2 separate regions of the Homo sapiens genome follow, and region 1 is linked to region 2. The links are contacts of gene promoters, found by promoter capture Hi-C in blood cells and fetal thymus (Javierre and others, 2016). All regions are on one chromosome and are shown on one strand. Each heading gives the region's core, a stretch centred on a gene start or on the middle of the fragment in contact. The rest is flanking DNA. Distances are from core to core; before and after follow the strand shown. Region 1 overlaps BUB1B-PAK6 (BUB1B-PAK6 readthrough). Region 2 holds the start of BUB1B-PAK6 (BUB1B-PAK6 readthrough).

Evidence for each region. Contacts are between HindIII fragments. The CHiCAGO score rates a contact against its expected background, and 5 or more counts as called.
Region 1: a fragment that was not itself captured here is called in contact with the fragment with the promoter of BUB1B-PAK6 in region 2 in 10 of 17 cell types (M0 macrophages, M1 macrophages, M2 macrophages and 7 more); the score reaches 15.3 in M0 macrophages.

The regions. Positions count from the first base shown.
Region 1 is chr15:40,260,941-40,266,748 of GRCh38, forward strand. It overlaps BUB1B-PAK6 (BUB1B-PAK6 readthrough), which reads left to right. Exons shown (of 10, transcript NM_001128629.3): 3 at 3,841-4,049; 4 at 4,902-5,555. The coding sequence starts at 3,846. It overlaps PAK6 (p21 (RAC1) activated kinase 6), which reads left to right. Exons shown (of 11, transcript NM_001395430.1): 4 at 3,841-4,049; 5 at 4,902-5,555. The coding sequence starts at 3,846. Among named protein-coding and RNA genes, the nearest start is that of PAK6-AS1, 11 kb to the left of the region's middle. The HindIII fragment of the contact is 1,135 bases long and covers 2,318-3,452 here.
Region 2 is chr15:40,214,841-40,220,537 of GRCh38, forward strand. It overlaps BUB1B-PAK6 (BUB1B-PAK6 readthrough), which reads left to right and starts at 2,588. Exons shown (of 10, transcript NM_001128629.3): 1 at 2,588-2,827. BUB1B (BUB1 mitotic checkpoint serine/threonine kinase B) reads left to right here. Exons shown (of 23, transcript NM_001211.6): 21 at 2,656-2,827; 22 at 3,616-3,722. All of the region lies in intron 1 of LOC107984763 (a long non-coding RNA gene), which reads right to left. The HindIII fragment of the contact is 293 bases long and covers 2,399-2,691 here.

The DNA.
Region 1 (5,808 bases), core at 1,635-4,134, 46 kb after region 2:
TGCAGTGGCCTGATCTCAGCTCACTGCAAGCTCCGCCTCCCAGGTTCACGCCATTCTCCTGCCTCAGCCTCCTGAGTAGCTGGGACTACAGGTGCCCACCACCACACCCGGCTAATGTTTTGTAGTTTTAGTAGAGACGGGGTTTCACCGTGTTAGCCAGGATGATCTCTATCTCCTGACCTCGTGATTCGCCCACCTCGGCCTCCCAAAGTGCTGGGATTACAGGCGTGAGCCACCGCGCCTGGCCCTTTTTAAAAATTTCATGTTGTTACTGGTATGTAGAAATCCAGTTGATTTTTTAAAATATTGACCTTGAGCCTGGGCACGGTGGCTCATGCCTGTAATCCCAGCACTTTGGGAGGCTGAGGCGGGTGGATCATGAAGTCAAGAGATCGAGACCATCCTGGCCAACATGGTGAAACCCCATCTCTACTAAAAATACAAAAATTAGCTGGGCGTGATGGCGTGCGCCTGTAGTCCCAGCTACTCAGTAGGCTAAGGCAGGAGAATCACTTGAACCCGGGAGGCAGAGATTGCAGTGAGCTGAGATCACACCACTGCACTCCAGCCCGGGCAAGACAGCGAGACTCCATCTCAAAAAATATATATATATATATTGACCTTGAATCAGGGACCTTCTAAATTCACTCCCTTAATCCCAGTTTTATGTAGATTCTCCCGCATTTTCTACTTACACAGTTATGTTGTCCCACACAGTGTTGGCCTCACCACATTTCAGATGAGTCCTAGCTGCCTCCCTTTAGGTGGTTGATTGGTTGATTTTCCAGACCTAAGTGATGGCCTCTGGTTTCTAAAGCTCTACTCCCTAGCCCCCAAAGCCTGAGCTCAGCTGATTGCTTCTGCCAACTCCCACCCTCACCATCACCACTCCTGGCCCTGGGACACCCTCTGGGCTGTCCTTCTTTCTTCTCCAGCCTCCCTGCTGCCTCTGGGAAGAACTTGTTCCGGAATGGCTCACTATTAGAATGGACTCAAGAGAGGCTCCCAGAGTCAGAGACCATTTGCTAAAGATGCTCTCCCTGTGCATCCCCACAGCAAAAGCTGAGCGCTTGGGTGGGGCAGGGGAGTTGGGGAGAGGGCTGTTCTGGGGTGGGTGGTGGGGGGCGGATTCACCAGCTCTTCTTCAGCTGCAGTCTGTGTCCCTGCACCTCCAGAAGATTTCACAGAGCTAGGGAGGAGGGCGAAACAGGCAGCTCAACTAATCCAGGGATAGCAGGTCTATCCAAGGGACTGGGGGAATAGACCTGCTGAATAAAGACTCTTCTGTAGCAAAAGGCAAAGGCTGTAATCCCAGCACTTTGGGAGACCAAGGCAGGTGGATCATTTGAAGTCAGAAGTTCGAGACCAGCCTGGCCAACATGGTGAAATCCCGTCTCTACTAAAAATACAAAAATTAGCCGGGTATGTTGGTGGGTGCCTGTAATCTCAGCTATTCAGGAGGCTGAGGCAAGAGAATCACTTGAACCCGGGAGGTGGAGGTTGCAGTGAGCCCAGATGGTGCCACTACACTCCAGTCTGGGCGACAGGGCGGCAAGACTCCTTCTCAAAAACAACAACAACAACAACAAACAACAACAAAAAAGGCAAAGGCCAAAAGGAGGAGGACAAATTTTACCAAACCATGATGTATATATGGCGAGGTCCCCAGGTCCCAGACCCCTGACATCAGGCATGACCCCTTTGACTGGTAAGTCTGAGCAGAAAGTGGTTTGGTGTTACTCCCAGACTTGTATCTGCCCAAGTGCCAGTGTCTGGAGGGCCTGAGCTTCAAGACAGGGATTCAAAGAGAGGTGACATCACAAGAGAAACAACCGTCATGTATGGGGACTCTGCTTACTTCACACACCCTAAACCCTATGAGCTGTCTTTCATTAACCCCCCTGGCTCAGATCATTTCAGTTATTTGTTCAAAATCTCTCCAAATTATTAGTGGGAGACTCCCTACAACTCATCTGCAACTCACACAGGTTGTTTTATTCCAAAGGGCTTGGTCTGTAAGGGTCCTGTACATGTGGCTCTACCTCTAGGGGGTGTTCGGTGGATCCCGAACCTCAAGACCCAGAAGCATGGCTGACATTGAGATGTGACGTGGGCTCTGATTGAGTCACGCATGGTGAATTCCTAGTGGGGAACCACTGGCTGTCCAGGGTCCCTGCCTTTCTGCCAGCTGCCTCCCAGATCTGCGACCTCCTTCAGAACCTGCCAAAATGACTAGGAAAATGCTGTTTCCATAGCAAGAGCCAAAAGAGAACATGACGGCCCTGCACTCCAGATCTTCGGGCGGATGAGTAATCCAAGCTTTCAGTTCAAGAATCATGTTTCAGTTTCTTGAAGCCTGGAAGTGACCTTTTCAGATACATAAGAACCCAGTGAGCTGTTCTGAGCCTCTTCAGATCCAAAAGCATTCAAGAGGCAGCCCTGGCCCTGTCTGCCATCAACATGTGATCCCAGGTCCGGGATCCCCTGAAGGCGAAACTAGAGCAACCCTTTGGAAGTGTCCCTCCCCTTCCCAGGCCCCCAGTTCCCCACTCTCAGATCTACCCATGCTATCCATTGCAAGCCTGTGTCACTTCTGTGTATGCAGCTCAGCACGACCTTAGGCAAAGCCAGAATCAGCAAGGCACGGGACACAGGCTTGATTGCAGGTTAAGTGTTTTATTGTTTGTTTTTTGAGACAGAGTCTCATTCTGTTGCCCAGGCTGGAGTGCAGTGGGGCAATCTCAGCTCACTGCAGCCTCAGCCTCCTGGGTTCAAGCGATTCTCCTCCCTCAACCCCATGGGTATCCGGGACTACAGGCACGTGCCACCAGGCCCGGCTAATTTCTTTGTATTTTTAGTCAAGACAGGTTTTCACCATGTTGGCCAAGCTGGTCTCAAACTCCTGACCTCAGGTGATCCACCCGCCTCGGCCTCCCAGAGTACTAGGATTACAGGCATGAACCACCATGCCCGGCCCAGGTGATGTTTTACATAGAGCTCCAATACCAGAGAGAAGAGTGTCAAGGGGAGGTGGTGCTCTCTGCCTTCTCTGGAGAGCTTTACCCCTAAGTTAGCTGCCCCTCACCCACCCCAGGCTATCCTCTTGGCTCAGGGCCTTTCTGGAATTGAGGTAAAGCACATGGTAACCATGAAGGCCCTTTGGGGGCTCCCTGATACATAATAGTCCCACACCGGGCAGCATGTCTGTGATCAGCTGGTTGGCTTTTTATTAACGTATCATATTAACAGGTTCAACCATCCTGGGACAAAGCTGAGTTGTAATAAAAAAAAAAAGCCAACAAAAAAATAACTTTAATATACTGTTGGATTCAATTCGATAGTTTTAAGATTTTCATAGTTACGTTCCTAAATGATATTGAGTCAAATTTTCCTTTTCTTGCACTCTCCTTATCTGGTTTTAAGAATCAAGGTCATACTCGTTTCATAAAACAAGCTTGCTAACTTTCCTCCCTCTTTCCCCATTTTTAAAATTCGTTGACAGACAGTGGAATGATACTTGTAATGGGCTTTGGATTTTATAAAAACACACCCCCAGAGTCTGCCTGCTCCATAGGGGACTTGGCACAGGCAAGAAGACACCTCTTTTCCTTGTTTATAGTCTGCACTGGCTTATTTATGGCACGTTTGTTGTTTCTGGGACTGTTCTGCTGGGAGCCAGCCATTTCCCTGAGGAAGCAGAGATGGAGGTGGAGGGAAGCCCTAGGCTTCTAGGGGAGCTGTGCTGGGGGAGGGGAGGGAGCCCTGAACCTGGTGCCCCAGGCCCTGCTGCAGCCACCCCTCTTTCCCGGGAGGGAGCTCAACCTTACTCTGCACTTACAGGCACCATGTTCCGCAAGAAAAAGAAGAAACGCCCTGAGATCTCAGCGCCACAGAACTTCCAGCACCGTGTCCACACCTCCTTCGACCCCAAAGAAGGCAAGTTTGTGGGCCTCCCCCCACAATGGCAGAACATCCTGGACACACTGCGGCGCCCCAAGCCCGTGGTGGACCCTTCGCGAATCACACGGGTGCAGCTCCAGCCCATGAAGGTAAGAGGGGCCGGCAGGGATGAGGTTCAGCCTCTCCCAGTACTCAGACAACCATGCCTGGCTAAACCTCAGAAAGGCCCCTGGAGGAACCACCTACTTCACAGCTATCAGTTAATCAGCTGTTTTAACTCCCTGCCTGTCAGCCTGCCATTCTCTCCCTGGGTAAGCCAGGGCGAAGGAGGCTGGGGAGACCCTCTCTGCAGGGTGGTGGGGTTGCCAGATTCAGCACATGAAAATGTGAGATGCTCAATTGCATTTGTATTTCAGATGACAACGAATAGTCTTTTAGGACGTGTCCCATTCAATATTTGGACCTGCAGCCCCATAGGGACTGAGGGCTCTCCCAGACCAGGAGAATTTTAGTTGTGAGGGTCACGACTAGTAGACCCAAGAGCCTGGTAGAAGGTGGGGTCAGGGGCCCTATCAGGGTTTGGAGGCTGCGAAGCCAGTGTGTGTGGAGGAGCCCCCGGCCTGGTGTCTCTTCCTCAGAGGGCTGGGCACATCTCTCCCAGCCACCCGTGGAGCTAGAGAATGGAGCCCCGCCCCCTGAGCTCCAGCTCCCTGGCCCAGCCGACCACACCCCTGGGCATGCTGGATGCAGCCCCATGGCACTCACCATCTGCTCTGCTGACGCTGGGCCTTCTCCCCGCATCCCTGCATCCAGCACAGGCGGGACCCACGGTGGGCCCTGATAAATTATGGAAAAATTAATGGGTGGATGACACAGCAGGGAAGGTCCTTAGGTGGTCCTCCCCAGGGCCCCCAGGGACATTCTCTGACCCTGATCTCCCAGCCACCCCTCCCTGCCACAATTGGGCAGCTCCCACACACTCTTTTCTCTTCCCCCTACAGACAGTGGTGCGGGGCAGCGCGATGCCTGTGGATGGCTACATCTCGGGGCTGCTCAACGACATCCAGAAGTTGTCAGTCATCAGCTCCAACACCCTGCGTGGCCGCAGCCCCACCAGCCGGCGGCGGGCACAGTCCCTGGGGCTGCTGGGGGATGAGCACTGGGCCACCGACCCAGACATGTACCTCCAGAGCCCCCAGTCTGAGCGCACTGACCCCCACGGCCTCTACCTCAGCTGCAACGGGGGCACACCAGCAGGCCACAAGCAGATGCCGTGGCCCGAGCCACAGAGCCCACGGGTCCTGCCCAATGGGCTGGCTGCAAAGGCACAGTCCCTGGGCCCCGCCGAGTTTCAGGGTGCCTCGCAGCGCTGTCTGCAGCTGGGTGCCTGCCTGCAGAGCTCCCCACCAGGAGCCTCGCCCCCCACGGGCACCAATAGGCATGGAATGAAGGCTGCCAAGCATGGCTCTGAGGAGGCCCGGCCACAGTCCTGCCTGGTGGGCTCAGCCACAGGCAGGCCAGGTGGGGAAGGCAGCCCTAGCCCTAAGACCCGGGAGAGCAGCCTGAAGCGCAGGCTATTCCGAAGCATGTTCCTGTCCACTGCTGCCACAGCCCCTCCAAGCAGCAGCAAGCCAGGCCCTCCACCACAGAGCAAGGTAAGTCAGGAGCCTGGCCTGCAGGTGTCCACTGGGGAGTGGGTGTAGGGACACAGGCCTTGCCTAGCCTTCCCCTTGGAGGACTGGCAAAGAGGCTCCCTGGACTGCTTCCGCCTAAGGCGGCAGAAATGTGCACGGTAACCTCTTCTCTAAGGAGGGTGGCTCGCCTCCTCCTTCCCTCCCTTCCTTTCCTTCTTTTCTCTGTGGCTGTTGTGTTGTTTCCCATTTCTGTCAGTATTTGTTCCCAAGTGTG
Region 2 (5,697 bases), core at 1,338-3,837:
ACCCACCCAATTAAGTGCAAGTAACAATCCCCTAAGCCGTTGTGACCACCAAAAATCCCCCCAAATTTCCAAGTATGAGAACCCCTGGTATATTTTCACTCTACTTAACATTAAAATGACAGTGCTGAAATTCCCAGGGCTATGGAAATTGGAAGCAGAGGTTTTTTCTAAGCCTTTTAGAATTGGCCATTTGTGGTCTAATGAAGTACGATAACCCTTCTCTCAGCCACTAGAGGCTCTAGGAAAGTCCATAGTATTAAAGAGGCATTGCTTTTTACTTTGTCACTGCTTATCAAATTTAATCAGAAATTTCACATAGATTCATAAGGAATTAAAAGCCAGAAAGGGGCCGAGCACAGTGGCTCATGCCTATAATCAATCCCAGCACTTTTGGAGGCTGAGGCGGGCAGATCACCTGAGGTTGGGAGTTCAAGACCAGCCTGACCAACATGGAGAAACCCCATCCTACTAAAAATACAAAATTAGCCAGGTATGGTGGTGCATGCCTGTAATCCCAGCTACTTGGGAGGCTGAGGAAGGAGAATTGCTTGAACTCAGGAGGCAGAGGTTGTGGTGAACTGAGATCGCACCATTGTACTCCAGTCTGGGCAACAAGAGCAAAATTCTGTCTCAAAAAAAAAGCCAGAGGCCGGGCGCAGTAGCTCACGCCTGTAATCCCAGCATTTTGGGAGGCCGAGGCGGGCGGATCACGAGGTCAGGAGATCAAGACCATCCTGGCTAACACAGTGAAACCCTGTCTCTACTAAAAATACAACAAGATAGCCAGCCGTGGTGGCAGGTGCCTGTAGTCCCAGCTACTCAGGAGGCTGAGGCAGGAGAATGGCGTGAACCCGGGAGGCAGAGCTTGCAGTGAGCCAAGATCATGCCACTGCACTCCAGCCTGGGTGACAGAGCGAGACTCCATCTCAAAACAAAACAACAACAAAAGCCAGAAAGGGCTGGATGCAGTGGTTCACATCTGCAATCCCAGCACTTTGGGAGGCAGAGGCAGGAGGATCTCTTGAGGCCAGGAGTTCAAGACCAGCCTGGTCAACATAGCAAGACCCTGTCTCTACAAAAATAAAATAAAAGCCAGAAAGAACCTTTTGAAATTGCTTAGTTTAGTTGCTTACTTTAGTTTCTGCATATTTTTTGTGAGGAAAATGAGATCCAAAAAAATGGAATGTCCTACCCAAAGTAACAGTGAGTGAGTAGCTGATTAGAGGGCTAGGACACCTTCATGCATGCTTCTTTTTATTAATCTATGAGACATTTTTTCCCTATGCCTCCAAAGTTATATAAATATTTTACAATTACACTGGGCATGGTGACTCACATCTGTAATCCCAGCACTTTGGGAGACCAAGGCAGAGGATCACTTGAGCCTAGGAGTTCAAGACCAGTCTGGGCAATATAATGAGACCTCATCTCTACAAAAAATTAAGAAATTAGCCAGGCATGGTGGCACACACCAGTAGTCCCAGCTACTCGGGAGGCTGAGATGGGAGGATCGCTTGAACCTAGGAGGCAGAGACTGCACTGAGCTGAGATCGCACCACTGTACTCCAGCCTCAGTGACAAGAGTGTAGACCTTGTCTAAGAAACCAAACAAAACACACACATGCACACACTTTACATATATATATAAAATACATATGTATATTTTATATATATCAGAATCCACGATCCCTATAACTATATATATACTATATATATATATATATATATATATTTTTTTTTTTTTTTAATTATAGTATAGTTTTATGGTGGCCAAAAAAGGTTGGCTCTTGTGCCAAGGAAAAATGAGAGCAATTATCAATTTTAAAGTAAAATACATAGATCATTCTGTGCCGTGGAGGTATGTAATTGGAGTAGTTAAAGACTGTATTTAGGAATATTGCACCAATATCAGGAGTTTGAGGGAATTAATTGAGAAAAACAGACAAAAGGAACACATGAAAACCCACTCTTTTCATTTATAAACAGTTCCTATGTCCCCTTGGAGAATAGCATTATTGCATAGGATAGATAAACCCAAGGAAAACAAAATTAATTGATAATTAATTAGTATTATAAAGATTTTTTTAGTAAATAACTGGAATTACAAGTAAGAGTAAGATAAAATATGGTGTTTTACAAGAAATTTTACAATACAGATAGGACTTTATAAAACAGACTTGCATTGTTTTCCATTAAACTCTGGAAGGAAGAATCTAAACAATACTTGGAAAGCCTATCTGGAATAGTAAACAAGAAAGGCTATGACACCTATAAAATTTTAATTTCCTCCATCATAATTCCTGTCAGTGTATAAATCATTGCAATTGTATGTGTTAATGTGTACAGTACAGGGAAGAAGCCTGTGCTCTGCTTCCATACTTACTTTATATAATATGGAAGCTTGATAAATGTTTAATGGTGGCCATGCACCGTGATTGAAATATACTTTGTGTCACCAAAGTGGTGACATTCCTTCCGCATTGGGTGGACACTGCCACTGCTCTGTCTTACAGGTGCATTTTCAAAATTAACCACTGGAGGGAGTTGTTGGCATAGCTAAGATGTACCCAAGGTACCTTTTTTTTTTAAAGACCAGCTATGCAGCTTCTTTCATGGCCTATTTTTATTATCTCCTTCTCTTAAATCTGGGCTCAGAATCCACGATCCCTATGATTGTAACAAGAACAATCAAGCTTTGAAGATAGTGGACTTTTCCTACAGTGTTGACCTTAGGGTGCAGCTGGATGTTTTTACCCTCAGCGGCTTTCGGACTGTACAGATCCTGGAAGGACAAAAGATCCTGGCTAACTGTTCTTCTCCCTACCAGGTAAGTGTAAAACAAGCCTGAGCAAATATGGAGAGGGTTTCTTAATCTCTTTATTATCTAGATAAGCTATAAAAGCTACTGTTTACTGATACCGACTCCTAGAATAGATGACCTAGTTTTCAAATATCACCAAGTCAAGTAAAATGTAACATTTTTGTGTTACAGCATTGAAGAATATACACATACATGTGCAAACACATGACTAACTCTGTAACCGAGTGCCAGGGCCACTCCTACTGCCTACCACCCATGTAATCTTTTATAAGTCATTTTCTGTGATCTTCTCTGTAAAATAGGGATAACAGTCTCTGCTATGTGTTTATCAGAATTGTTATGAGGAGTAAATGAAGTAATGTATATAAAAAGAACATTAGCACAAATGTAAAGTCTTTTGTATGGTGGCATTATATGCAGAAATTCCTTCTAACTCAGCTTTAGACATAAGACATTTGCTGATTGAATATGTAGCACAAACCTGAACTAATCATGTGGACCCCATTTAGATCACAGCTGGAGTTCATGCAAACTCAGTAGGTCTACAAATTTGAATGTGATAGTCCAAATATTTCATCTTTTGTTCTTAAGGATAATTCCTAGAATTGGCTCTATTGATCACTTCTTTGGAGAGCTTCTCCCTTTACTGTAAGGGTGAGGAACAGTCTACTAAAATGTATGTCATAAAATAAACTTAGTTAAGCACTGTAATACCTTTCAACTTCCTACCGAAATAAGCTGCCATGGTAGAGGCAGAGAATTATTTTAGCTGATGGTGCTTTTTGTGATTTCAGGTAGACCTGTTTGGTATAGCAGATTTAGCACATTTACTATTGTTCAAGGAACACCTACAGGTCTTCTGGGATGGGTCCTTCTGGAAACTTAGCCAAAATATTTCTGAGTAAGTATTGATGAATGTCAGGGTCTCTGCCTGTCCCAATAATTTTCTGTTTCTCTTGGGTGCTATCTCTGCTTTGGCAGCCTTAGTTTTTTAATCCAAATGCCATGGTTCCAGTAGTTTCAGCCAGTTTTCATTAGAGTATCAGCAGAGCAGCTAGTGCAGGAAAAAGGAACTGCTTACTAAAAATAAGATTCAAAACTATTCAGACTTCAGGACATCATTCTGAATCTAGCTGTATCTTCCAGACTACAGCTATAGTATGGAAGCTTCCCTGTTTAGATATGTGAAAAGAAGCATTTCATGAGAATAATTTTCTAACTAATTGGTGTTAGCCTTAAATTCCTTTTTCTTTATTTATTTATTTTTTGAGACGGAGTCTCGCTCTGTTGCCCAGGCTGGAGTGCAGTGGCATGATCTCGGCTCACTGCAACCTCTGCCTCCCAGGTTCAAGTGATTCTCCTGCTTCAGCCTCCTGAGTAGCTGGGATTACAGGCGTGCGCCACCATGCCTGGCTCATTTTTGTATTTTTAGTAGAGATGCGGTTTCACTACGTTGGCCAGGCTGATCTCGAACTCCTGACCTTGTGATCCGCCCGCCTCGGCCTCCCAAAGTGCTAGGATTACAGGTGTGAGCCACCGTGTCTGGCCTAAATTCCTTTTTAATAGCAATTATTACCAAAAGTTAATAAGCATCCTTTGAAAAGACTTACATTTCTAAACTATATGCTAATTTTAGGCTATTTTTTATTTAATAAGTGGATAGAACCAAACCAGATAACTGACTCTCCTGGAGAAGAAGTAAGTGGTCTCTTAATAAGCACTGCTTGGTCTCAGAACCTTAGTACTCCCTCAAGCCTGCTCATAAAACTTACTAAGTCAGCCGGGCATGGTGGCTCACACCTGTAATCACAGCACTTTGGGAGGCCGAGGCAGATTACCTGAGGTCAGGAGTTTGAGAGCAGCCTGGGCAACATGGCGAAACCTTGTCTCTACTCAAAATACAAGAAAATTAGCTGGGTGTGGTGGCACATGCCTGTAATCCTAGCTACTTGGGAAGCTGAGGCACGGGAATCACTTGAACCTGGGAGGCAGAGGTTGCAGTGAGCTGAGATCGCGCCACTGCACTCCACCCAGGGCAACAGAGTGAGACTCCGTCTCAAAAAAAACTAAGTATCTACGTTCCACTTTAGCTTATCTTAGCAAATAAGTTCCCAGCCTGTCACCTATTGTTATATTCTTTGGTTAAAAAAAAAAATGAGTGTTGAAGATTTAATGCCCCTTCTCTATTTTCATCTTTGAATAATTGAATTGTACTTTTCTCTTCATTTAATTCAGAACTTGGCCAGTGTTGTCTCTTACATGAACTTTTAAAAATAGGCTTGAAATACAATGTAAGACATATAGGATGGATATAGGCATGTCCACTTGGCTATGGTCCAGGCAGGTCTGGCTAACACAAGCAGAAACAAGTGGGGTCAGTTGGGGTTTCCTAACAGCCCTGCCTTATCTAATAAGGGAAGTTTCTCTGATCAAAAGAAAATAATAAGAAGCAAAGGTACAAACATATTAAGCAGTAGTTAGTTTAGTCAAGCTTACGATTATCAGAGAATTGTAAAGAAGATCCACTACTGGGGTAGGAGAAAGGAGCTGTAGCCTTTTTAATGACCTAGACTCTAGGAAAGTTAGAGGAAATAAAATTCCTTTTTCTTCTATTTGTAGAAGAAAAGTGCTATGTCTTAGTACACAGAGGAAATTTATAGATTTAGATGAGAGATCTTCTTTCCCTTTATGTGCATTGTATCTTGGCTTTTCCCACTATGGTAGCCCTTTTTTGTAGTTCTTCCCTGGGCTTTCAAAGGACTATTTGAATGATCTCTAACCCTAGAGTTCTAGGTATTACCTTACACCATTTTGGTGCATAAATGTACCACTGAGTTAAACTAAAAGGAATTATAATTTTCATATGCCTAATCTTG